3 separate regions of the Homo sapiens genome follow, and regions 1 and 2 are each linked to region 3. Evidence: promoter capture Hi-C in 16 types of primary human blood cells and fetal thymus (Javierre and others, 2016). All regions are on one chromosome and are shown on one strand. Each heading gives the region's core, a stretch centred on a gene start or on the middle of the fragment in contact. The rest is flanking DNA. Distances are from core to core; before and after follow the strand shown. Region 1 holds the start of OLMALINC (oligodendrocyte maturation-associated long intergenic non-coding RNA). Region 2 overlaps HIF1AN (hypoxia inducible factor 1 subunit alpha inhibitor). Region 3 holds the start of SLC25A28-DT (SLC25A28 divergent transcript).

What was found. Contacts are between HindIII fragments. The CHiCAGO score rates a contact against its expected background, and 5 or more counts as called.
Region 1: a fragment that was not itself captured here is called in contact with the fragment with the promoter of SLC25A28-DT in region 3 in 1 of 17 cell types (fetal thymus); the score reaches 7.8 in fetal thymus.
Region 2: a contact is called between a fragment that was not itself captured here and the fragment with the promoter of SLC25A28-DT in region 3, in 1 of 17 cell types (fetal thymus). The highest score is 7.0, in fetal thymus.

Annotation. Positions count from the first base shown.
Region 1 is chr10:100,370,756-100,374,447 of GRCh38, forward strand. It overlaps OLMALINC (oligodendrocyte maturation-associated long intergenic non-coding RNA), which reads left to right and starts at 2,821. Exons shown (of 3, transcript NR_026762.1): 1 at 2,821-3,257. RefSeq lists enhancers at 2,384-2,713, 2,443-3,012, 2,814-2,943, 3,013-3,580, 3,581-3,692. The HindIII fragment of the contact is 2,501 bases long and covers 228-2,728 here.
Region 2 is chr10:100,538,986-100,542,412 of GRCh38, forward strand. HIF1AN (hypoxia inducible factor 1 subunit alpha inhibitor) reads left to right here. Exons shown (of 8, transcript NM_017902.3): 3 at 1,649-1,797. Among named protein-coding and RNA genes, the nearest start is that of HIF1AN, 4.8 kb to the left of the region's middle. The HindIII fragment of the contact is 8,099 bases long and covers 1-3,427 here.
Region 3 is chr10:99,619,200-99,622,485 of GRCh38, forward strand. It overlaps SLC25A28-DT (SLC25A28 divergent transcript), which reads left to right and starts at 1,646. Exons shown (of 1, transcript NR_186534.1): 1 at 1,646-2,719. SLC25A28 (solute carrier family 25 member 28) reads right to left here and starts at 1,240. Exons shown (of 4, transcript NM_031212.4): 1 at 846-1,240. The coding sequence starts at 1,136. RefSeq lists enhancers at 466-1,048, 1,632-2,214, 2,215-2,796 and silencers at 931-1,090, 1,821-1,980. The HindIII fragment of the contact is 4,603 bases long and covers 1,432-3,286 here.

The DNA of each region.
Region 1 (3,692 bases), core at 228-2,727, 750 kb after region 3:
GCAGATGACAAACTAGATATGTCGTAATCTGTCATATGTCCAACTGTATGCCTGGCAATATTCAGTTATACTCAGAGGCAAAGCCTGGTGATGTGACCCTCCTCCCTGGGTGGCAGTGGCAGGGAGCTTAAGTTTTGCACAAACAGCAGATGCATCCACTGTTCCGGAAGAACCCAGCTCACTCCACCTCCTGACCCGTCTTAACATTCAGTCACACCTGGGTTTTAAGCTTTCCTCTCAAACCATAGATACGTACCCAACATTTCCTGTCTACTTTTCCTAAACTACACTTCACCCTCCTATAAGATTGTGAGCTCCTCAAAAGCATCTTCCTCTTTCAGAAATGTCTCCCTGCCCCTAAACAGTCAGCACTGGAAATGACAGAATGAGCTCATGTCTTGCTCTAAATTCTGTCACTGCTACAAACTGTGTGAAATGTCACAGGGAGTAGGAGTCATATTTTGTGACCTGTAGTTAACTTTCCGTGCTGCAGGCAAAGCGCTGATTCTTGTACACTGACTTTGGAACAAATGCCACAGGCCCTAATTGCAGGCTCCAAGGAGTTGAGATTCCATACTGGGGTTGCTGGAGGCAGAAGCCTTCCCACTTTCAGGACCCGGACCTGCCCTTCCCCCACGCGGTCCCGCCCAGCCAGCTACACCCTGGCCACAGAGCGCTCACAAAGGCTCAGTGTGTGTATGCCGGGCTGACTCACAGTGGTTCTGGGCCCAGGCGAGGACCTTCTCAGAGGGGCGGAAGGGGCCCTCTCCCTCCTGGCCATTTTCCATGGGGAGCAGTCAGTAACCAGGACCATGCCAGACTTCAAAAAACAGAGAGGAAAGTGGAAGTGAAAGGCAGCAGAGGACTCAGAATTGCTGTTTCTTATTTCTTTCTTAGAGAATTATGGACAGCAGGAAGGACTCACCTTTTAGTCTGTCAGTTTGTTTGCGAGAGAGAGAGAGAGAGAGAGAGAGAGAGAGATACATTTTAATTGAGAGACAATTCACACAATATAAAACTAACCACTTTATTTATTGAGATAGGGGTCTCACTATATTGCCCAGGCTGGTCTCAAACTCCTGGGCTCAAGTGATCCTCCTCCCTTGGCCTCCCAAAGTGCTGGGATGACAGGTGTGAGCCACCGTGCCCGGCTAAACTAACCATTTTATTTTATTTATTTATTTTGAGACAGAGTTTTGCTCTTGTCGCCCAGGCTGGAGTGCAATGGGATGATCTCGGATCACTGCAACCTTCGCCTCCCGGGTTCAAACGATTCTCCTGCTTCAGCCTCCTGAGTAGCTGGGATTACAGGCACCTGCCACCATGCCCATCTTTTTTTTTCTTTCTTTCTTTCTTTTTTTTTTTTTTTTTAGGAGAGATGGGGTTTCACCACGTTGGCCAGGCTAGTCTCAAACTCCTGACCTCAGGTGATCCGCCCGCCCCACCCTCTCAAAGTGCTGGGATTACAGGTGTGAGCCACCGTGCCAGGCCGAACTAACCATTTTAAATTGACCAGTTCTGTGGCACTTAGTGCATTCATAACATTGTGCAAACACTACCTTTTGTTCTAAAACATTTTCACCCCAAAAGAAAACTTGAACCCATTCAACAGTGATTCCCCATCTTCCCACCCACACTCGGCCCCTGGTGACCATCAGTCTGCTTTCTGTCTCTGTGGATTTACCACTTCAGGATATTTCCTATACATGGAATCGTACAATATATGACCTTCTGTGTCTGGCTTCCTTCTCTTGGCATAATCTTTCAATGTTCATCCCCATTGGAGCATATATCAGTACTTCATTCCTGTTTATTACCTATTCATATTCCATTGTATGAATACACCACAGTTGGTTTACTGATTTATCAATTGATGAACACTGGAGTTGCTTCCACCTTTTGGTTATTGTGAATAGCACTGCCATGAACATTTGAGTGCAAATATGAGTACCCGTTTATAATTTATTAGGGTTTATATCTAGGAGTGGAGTTGCTGGGCCAGATGCTAATTTGATATTTAACCTTTTGTGGCACCATCAAACTGTTTCCCCAGTGGCTGCACCACTTTAAATTTTCTCCAGCAATGTATGAGAGTCACCCTCTTCTTAACGTGTACCCATTTGTCCCTTTCCTCTTTCCTACTTTTTACAAAGCCAGTTCCCCACAGACTTCTCTTTCCCCTGGAGTAGAGGGTGGGAGAAGTTGCATCTCTAGTAGAAAGACTATCCAAGCCTCCATTCTTACCTTTTCCGCAAATAGAATACGGTGACCAGGAGGAGGAGAGGACAGGCTGCCACCTCCCTGTGGTCACTAAGGTACACCCACTACAGCCATTAACGCGACTCCGTAAAACTACCCTCCTAGCGACCTCCAACGCCTCGGTCCTCACCCAGAACATCACATTAAACTTTTCAACAGTCACAGATAGGAAGGGGCTCGGTGTGGAAGGTGCCAGCTCTGGCTCAGCCCTGCGGGTGAGTGTTTAACTTTCAGCCCAGCTTAAGATCTCCGAAGACACCCATCGCCTCGTCCTGCCCAGTCCCCTCCGCTAAAGGGCCGGCCTGCCCGGGCCTGGCTGGCAGCTGACATGAATGGAGAGGAAGCGCCTCCCTCTCCACCCACTCTCGCCGGGGTTACTGCCGGTCACAGACCCGGGCCTTCAAGAGCTATTTACACCTACAACAGCCCACCAGCGCCTGACCACGCCGGAGCCAATCAGCGGCCCCCAAGCTTGTCTGATTCTGTCTGCTCCAATCAGGAGGCGCGGTCCTTCCAGCCTCTTGCTCCTGTGAATCACAGGTCGGCGGGAGCCTTTTTTCCTTTTTTTTTTTTTCCCGGGGAGTCGGCCTCGGGGCTCTGCTCTCCTACCTCAGTCTGCCCTACCCTGGAATGGGGAAAATGCGGACATGCCACTCAGTCCGGCCGCGAACAGTGCTCCAGAACTCAGAGAGTTTTCCAGACGGGTGGAGATCGCGTTCCCTGCCCGCCGAGGTCCCATCGCTTCCCTGCTGGGAAGACAAATGAGGCGCTTTAGCCGTCTCCACGGCCAGCCCCTCCCTCATAACCCGAGATTCTTTGTGGGCTCTTAGTCCATAGCTGCCTTTGAGGTGGTGTAGACCTTGCTAACCAGGACGGCCCAGTAGGCAGAGCTCATTTTTATTCCTGTCTGCAATCGTGCAAAAACGCCTCTTATGGAAAAGCCAGAGCGCCAGGAGTCAGCAAAACACACTAAAGATTGGGCAGTCACTGGGGAGAACGTGAGTAAAAGCACAGGAACAGCAAAGCGTTCAGGAACGTTCGAGGCTGACGCAACCGGCGCAGGAAGGTGGTGTGTGGTGGGAGAGTGGGAGGAGACAGTGGAAAGTTTAGACTTGCTTCTGTAAGTGATAAGAAGTCATCAGATATTTTCAAGCAGGAGAGGAAAATAATCTCTCTGTTTCGCAAAGTTAACTCTCATGGCAACAGAGCAGAGTAGCGGGGGGATGGGGGCTGGGAGATGTTGGGAAGCTATTGTTACCACTCTGGTGAAGAGTCATGGGACCTCAAAAGCTGGGATAGTCACGGTGGGAATGGAAAGGAAGGGCACAAGCTGAGAGGCATTTGGGAGGAGAATCAATAGCACTTTATTGACTGGATGTGTGAGATGAGTGAGGACAGCAATCAGAAGAGGACTTTGAGGTTTCTAGCCTGAG
Region 2 (3,427 bases), core at 488-2,987, 920 kb after region 3:
ACCTTCACCTCCCAGGCTCAAGCGATCCTCCCACGTCAGCCTGTCAAGTAGCAGGGACCACAGGCATGTGCTGCCACCACCATGCCCAGCTAATTTTGTGTATTTTTAATAACCAATTTATTTATTTAAATACATAAGGTTTTGCCATGTTGCCCAGGCTGGTCTCGAACTCCTGAGCTTAGGCAATCCACCTCCCTTGGCCTCTCCAAGTGCTGGGATTACAGGCGTGAGACACCGCACCTGGCCTCTTTGAGCCTTTTGAAATAATGATCTCAGGACCAGGACAGAGATGCTTCTGTCTTTTTTTTAGGTTTGCACACTTATTAAATGTCTCTTGTGGGCTTGTTCAAGTGTGTCTGGGTTTTCATATCTCTTAAGTAACTTATGACCTTCCTCAGGTATGTTAGGAGCCTGAGGCCTTTACCTAATAAGCTATCTTCCTTACTTTAGCTGTAGAAGGCTGCAACAGGATAGGTGGCTGAATCAGTTAAGATAAACTAGGCTTCAAGCCAGAGCTCGGGCTAGAAACAACAGAGGCTTATTTCTCACTTACTACATGTTGATCATGGGTAATGTCATATTGTTCTTTACATCATCTTACTTGCTCTGGCACCCAGATTGCCCCAGCAGCTACTATCTAGAACTTTGGAGTTGCTGTGGCAGAAGGAAAGAGATGTGGTAGTGGTAACTTGTTCTTAAATTACAGTTGGAAACAACACAAGTCGCTTCTGTGGACATTTCCTTGGCCAGAGCAGCGTAAATAAGCAAGCCTGGCTTCAAGGGGATGTGAAAGAAAACTCGCACACTGAGGGAACCAGCTCTTGGTGAACAGTAATACAATTTACCACAGTGGTCATCAAGGGCCAACGGAGATGTCTCAGGCTCTGCGAGTCTCTGGAGTGAGACTGATTCATCATTCTAGGGTCTGTGGATAGGCTTCTAGGAGTCTGAAATTGTGTGAAAGTTCTGGGTGTATGTGCATTTTTATGGGGAACCTCCGTGGATTCTTTTATTTATTTATTTATGTATTTATATTTTTTGAGATGGTGTCTTGCTCTTGTCACCCAGGCTGGAGTGCAATGGCACGATCTCAGCTCACTGCAACCTCTGCCTCCCAGGTTCAAGTGATTCTCCTGCCTCAGCCTCCTGAGTAGCTGGGACTTCTTCTCCAGGTTCTTTTTTTTTTTTTTAATTTTATTTTTCATCTCACCCTCCTACTCTTTGGATTCTTAAAGGAGTCATTCTGTGACCCAAAAAAGGTTAAGCATCACTTCTTTAAAGAAAAAGTTTGGGGGCCAGATGCAGTGTCTCACACCTGTAATCCCAGCACTTTGGGAGGCAGAAGCAGGAGGATTGCTTGAGCCCAAGAGTTTAAGACCAACCTGGACAACATATTGAGACCTTGTTTCTTTAAACAAAACAAAGAAAAACCAGTAAATTAAAAAATTTGGTGTTGAACATAACTCAATGAAGGATAAGTAAGAATTCAGTTGTATGAGAATCCATGTTGGCTAAAATTTGCCTGACTACATCTGTTCTCTGTGGGAGATGCTGGTATGGATTTGGGCTTGGATTTTCAGATGTGGAGAGGCCATGCCAGGGGCTGTGTGTGCATGCACTAATAGGATTTTCTTCTTGGGGAACATAGGTTGTATCTGCAGCAAACGCTCAATGACACTGTGGGCAGGAAGATTGTCATGGACTTCTTAGGTTTTAACTGGAACTGGATTAATAAGCAACAGGGAAAGCGTGGCTGGGGGCAGCTTACCTCTAACCTGCTGCTCATTGGCATGGAAGGTAAGAAATCTTTCAAAAGCAGCATGGCTTGGAGTCATATGAACCTGATTTCTAATCCTGTCTTCACCGCTTATTAGCTCCATGACTTTGAACAAGCCACTTCACTTTCTTAAGCCTCAGCCTACTCAGCTCTAAAAGAAACATAATAGGGGCTGGATGCCGTGGCTCACGCCTGTAATCCCAGCAGTTTGGGAGGCCAAGGTGGGTGGATGATGAGGTCAGGAGATGGAGACCATCCCGGCCAACATCATGAAACCCCGTCTCTACTAAAATACAAAGAAAACAAATCAGCTGGGCATGGTGGTGCGTGCCTGTAGTCCCAGCTACTCGGGAGGCTGAGAGAGGGGAATTGCTTGAACCCAGGCGGTGGAGGTTGCAGTGAGCCAAGATCACGCCACTGCACTCCAGCCTGGCGACAGAGCAAGACTCTGTCTCAAAAGAAAGAAAAAGAAACATAATAGGGCCAGGCATGGTAGCTCATATTTGTAATCCCAGCACTTTGGGAGGCCAAGGCAGGAGGATTGCTTGAAGCCAGAAGTTTGAGGCTACAGTGAACTATGATTGCACCACTGCACTGCAGCCTGGGCAACAGAGTGAGATCCTATTGCTTAAAAAAGGAAAAATGAAAAGAAATGAAACATGATAATGTCTTGTAAATAGTTGTGAAGTTGTGAAGATTAAATGAAATAATGTATGTCGAGTCTGTTTTTTTTTGTTGTTGTTGTTTTGTTTTTTTGAGACAGAGTCTCACTCTGTTGCCTAGGCTGGAGTGCAGTTGTGTGGTCTCGGCTCACTGCAACCTCCGCCTCCCGTGTTCAAGTGATTCTCCTGCTTTAGCTCCCAAGTAGCTGACACTACAGGCGTGTGCCACCATACCCGGCTTATGTCGAGTCTTTAAGCTAGTTTCGTGTATTCTAAAAAGTTCCCTTTTCCCTTCCTCAGCTGTTATGTGAGTGTGTATACTGAGATATTAGGGACCTCTCTGAAATACAGACATGTGATGCTTAATGTCAGGGATACGTTCTGAGAAATGTGTTGTTAGGTGACTTCATCATTGTGCAAACACCATAGAGTATAGTTACACAAACCTAGATTGTGTAGCCTTCTATATGCCTAGGCTATATGGTGTAGCCTCTGACTAAACCATGTACTACATGGTGTTAGCATATTACTGTGCTGAATATTATAGTCAATTCTAACACAATGGTAAGTATTTGTGTATCTAAACATACCTAAATATAGAAAAGGTATAGTAAAAGTACGGTATCAGATACTGCAGGAAAAAGGTGACAAAAGAAAAAAGTATATAAAGGTTAAAAAATGGTAGTTTGGGAATTTTTTTATTGCCAAAAAAAAAAAAGATAAAAAACGGTATACCTGTATAGGGCTGCTCCATCATAATCTTATGGGAGCACTATCGTAGATGCAATCTGTTGTCGACTAAAATGTCATCATGTGGCACATGACTGTACCACTTTTCTCTACTAGATCTGTCTATATTCAGACAATTTTTGTCCCTGTGAAAGAGGAGAAACTTATTTTTTTAGTGTAAATTCAACTTTATTGTTTTTATTTATTTATTTATTTTTGAGACAGAGTCTCGCTCTGTCGCCCAGGCTGGAGTGCAGTG
Region 3 (3,286 bases), core at 396-2,895:
CGTGTCCTCTTGTTGATCTCTTTCCATTTTCTTCATACTTACATCTACTTTCTAATACCGTCACACTTCCTTTCTAGGCAACTTCTCCCTTTTTGCCAACTTCAGGTGGCCAAAGAAATATGCTATCAGTTTCATCTCTCTTGTTTGGAGGCTGATGTGCTCCCTGAACATACAGTCCTAATCCCAGCTCAATTTTCATGTTCAGGAAATAGGTGGGGTATCATGCTTGCTTCACAGAGAAACTGAAACCTATTCCTGAATACGATCTTTCCCACATTACTTCCAGTCTGGAATTCTGCATTCTCACTGCACAATGATTTCCAATCACTCATGTGTTAAGATTTAACATGTAAGTCCTTTATCTAGCTGAGAGATCCCAGATTCGGGTTCCTGCCCCGTCAGTAAGGGAAGATACAGCAAGGAGTTTGTAAAAGCACTAGCCCAGAAAACATCTCAAGCCGTTAGATCCATTTCAGGGTCTGGTTCACGCCAGTTGGCTTCACCTTAATCGAGTTAGTAGCACTTACCTGAGCTTCGGGATACCCCATCCCACCCTATTCCTGTTTAGTCCCAGGTGGGGTCCAGGGCTTTGGCTGACAGATTTTCGATCCTGAGTCCCGATTCAGATTTCACTGACGGTTAGAAATAGGTCCTGGTTCCTGACTGGGATCAACTCCCAGCTGGGACCTTGCTTGAATGGAGTGTCGGTTCGAATCATGTGGTAGTGGCAGGAGCCAGGAAGGAACCCATGTCGGCTCCGGCTCTCAGCCGGGATCCTGGCTCCGGACAAGACCCAGGGGTCGGGTCAGCCCCAGGTCGGGTTCGAAGCCGGGTGCAGGTCTCACCTTGACGCAGTCGATGGGGTACATCACGCAGTGCTCCAGGATCCCTGCCACGGCGCCTGCCACCATGTGCGTGGTGACAGTGGCTCCAGCCGGCAGCGCCTCGTAGTCCGGGCCGGAGTCCGGATCTTGTCGTACCGGGGGCCTGCAGGCCCCGGCCTCCCCGCCGCCGGCCCCCCGGCCCACGCCCCGCTGCAGCCACCCGTCCAGCAGCGCCGACTCCCCGGGGCTCCGCCCGGGCCCTGCCGCCGGCCCCCCCGCCACACCGCCAGCACCCCGCCCCTCCAACTCCATCCACCCGGGCCAGCTGCGGCGCCCACCCCCGCCGCCGCTGCCACCACTGCCGCCGCCGCCCCCCGGCCCCGTAGTGTCCGCCTCAGGCGCGGCCCAGAGAGCCCGGGGCCTCCGGCTCCCGCTTGGCCCCGCGGACACGCCCCCCAAGCAACCATTGGTGGAGACGCCAAGTTAGACCCACCCCTTTCCTTACGTACGAAAAATCAGCCGGTAGTATTAGCGAAGTCGCCTGTCATTCCTCCGCCCTGAGGCGTTGCTAGCGCCTACATCCCACCTTTTCCCCTTTGATCTTAGAAGCTTCTTGTTTATTGGTCACTGATTGGCCGACATGTGCGATCAACCCGCCTCTGACTTTTAGAAGGGCGGGAGAAACTTAAGGCTGAACTTTGATAGGCTCAACCACTCTTGATACTTTGACCGCGGCCATTGGCCCGCACCACGTCGGTCCCCGATTGGCTACAGAAAGAGCGACGCGCCCAGGGACTCTAGGGGCCGACTTCGGGCCCCTCACTAGCGCCTGCAGAGCTGCGGTCCCTGTGCGCGGGATCGCGTCGGGGGCGGGGCGGCGACAGGCCTTCAACGTCAAACTGCTGACGGGCGCCGTTACGACCCGCGCTCCCGTGCGCTCCTCAAATTCTGAGACGCGTGGCTGGAGAGCGGGCGGCCCTGGCCCCGGAGAGCCGTGTTCCCGCGGGATCTCGTCGCGGGCGTGAGGCGGGGCCGGCCTGGGCCGGTCATCCCTGGCTGGCGCGACCCGCAGCCTGTCCGGGAAGCCGTTGCGACATGCGGGCTGGGAACCGCCTCACCTCCAGGGGGGACCGCGGCGGCCCGCTAGACTCTGGTCGGGTCTGGAGTATTGGGCCCTCTGGCCGGACTCGGTGCTCCTCAGGCCCCAGCGCCCGGCACTGAGCCTCGCATCCACATTCGCAGAGTAAACCCAACAAGTGTTGAATGAATGAGGTTCCCCGGGCCCCGGCTGTCACTGGGCTCTGCGCCAGGCCAAGAGCCGAAGGCGGGGGAGGAAGATGTCGAAATGGGCGGGATGATTCACAGATGACGGCCGGTGGCGAGGCGGGGCTGGAGGCCGCATCCCAAAGGCAGCAGGGAAGTGCGGCGGCTGTGGGGAAGCTCGGACGCACGGCCTGGCCGAGTCTGAAGCATCAGTATTTTGTCCCTGAGCCGGCGCGCTGATGGGTCCCCCGCCTGGCGATGAGGGCTTCTCCCTCCCTCGGGTCAGCCCGGGTCCTGAGAGGCAAGGCCAGCGATTCCCGGCCTTAGGACCTCCTGCTCTAGGGAGCACGGGCGTCTTCTTCCATTTGCCTTCCCCGAGCGTGTTGGCACAAGCTGCCCGCGGTTTCCAGCTCTGTCTTCTCTGTTTTACCCAGATGATGCAACTGTGGACTTCTCCATCTGTTCATAGGTTTTCCTTGGATAGGAAAGATGTTTTCCTTTTTTCTTTCTAAAGTTTAGCTCTTCTCTGGGCTTCCTTTTTAAAAACTTTTTCTACTCTCTTCAGCAGTTGTTATTAACCTTTAGGTCGCGACCGTTTGGAAAATAATAAAACTACGAATTCTCTTCTCCTACTTCCACCTCCCATCCCCTGTGTGCACTCAAAATTTTGCATATCATTTCTGCGTTTCAGAGTCCCTGAAGGTGCCATGTGGACACCCTAGGGGTCCATTAACCTGGTTAACCTCTCCCTGGCCGGCGCAGTGGCTCATGCCTGTGACCCCAACACTGTGAAGGCCGAGGTGGGACGATTTATTGAGCTCAGGAGTTCGAGACCAGCCTGGACAACATGGCAAAACCCCGTCTCTACAAAATAATAAATACAAAAAAGTACAAAAATTCAAAAATTAGCTGGGTATGGTGGTGTGCACCTGTAGTCTCAGCTACTTGGGGGAGGATTGCTTGCGCCAGGGAGGTCGAAGCTGCAGTGAGCCGTGTTCATGCCACTACACTCCAGCCTGGGTGACAAAGCAAGACTTTGTCTCAAAAAAATTTTTTTAAAAGGAACTTCTCCCCCACAGCATGTTCAGTCTCTCCTTTTCTCTAGCATATTTAGCTTGAGAAATGAATAGGTCTCACAAAAACCCATTCAATCCTGCTAGAGTACTAATTCCCTTTACTGCCAGATTACTCCACTAATG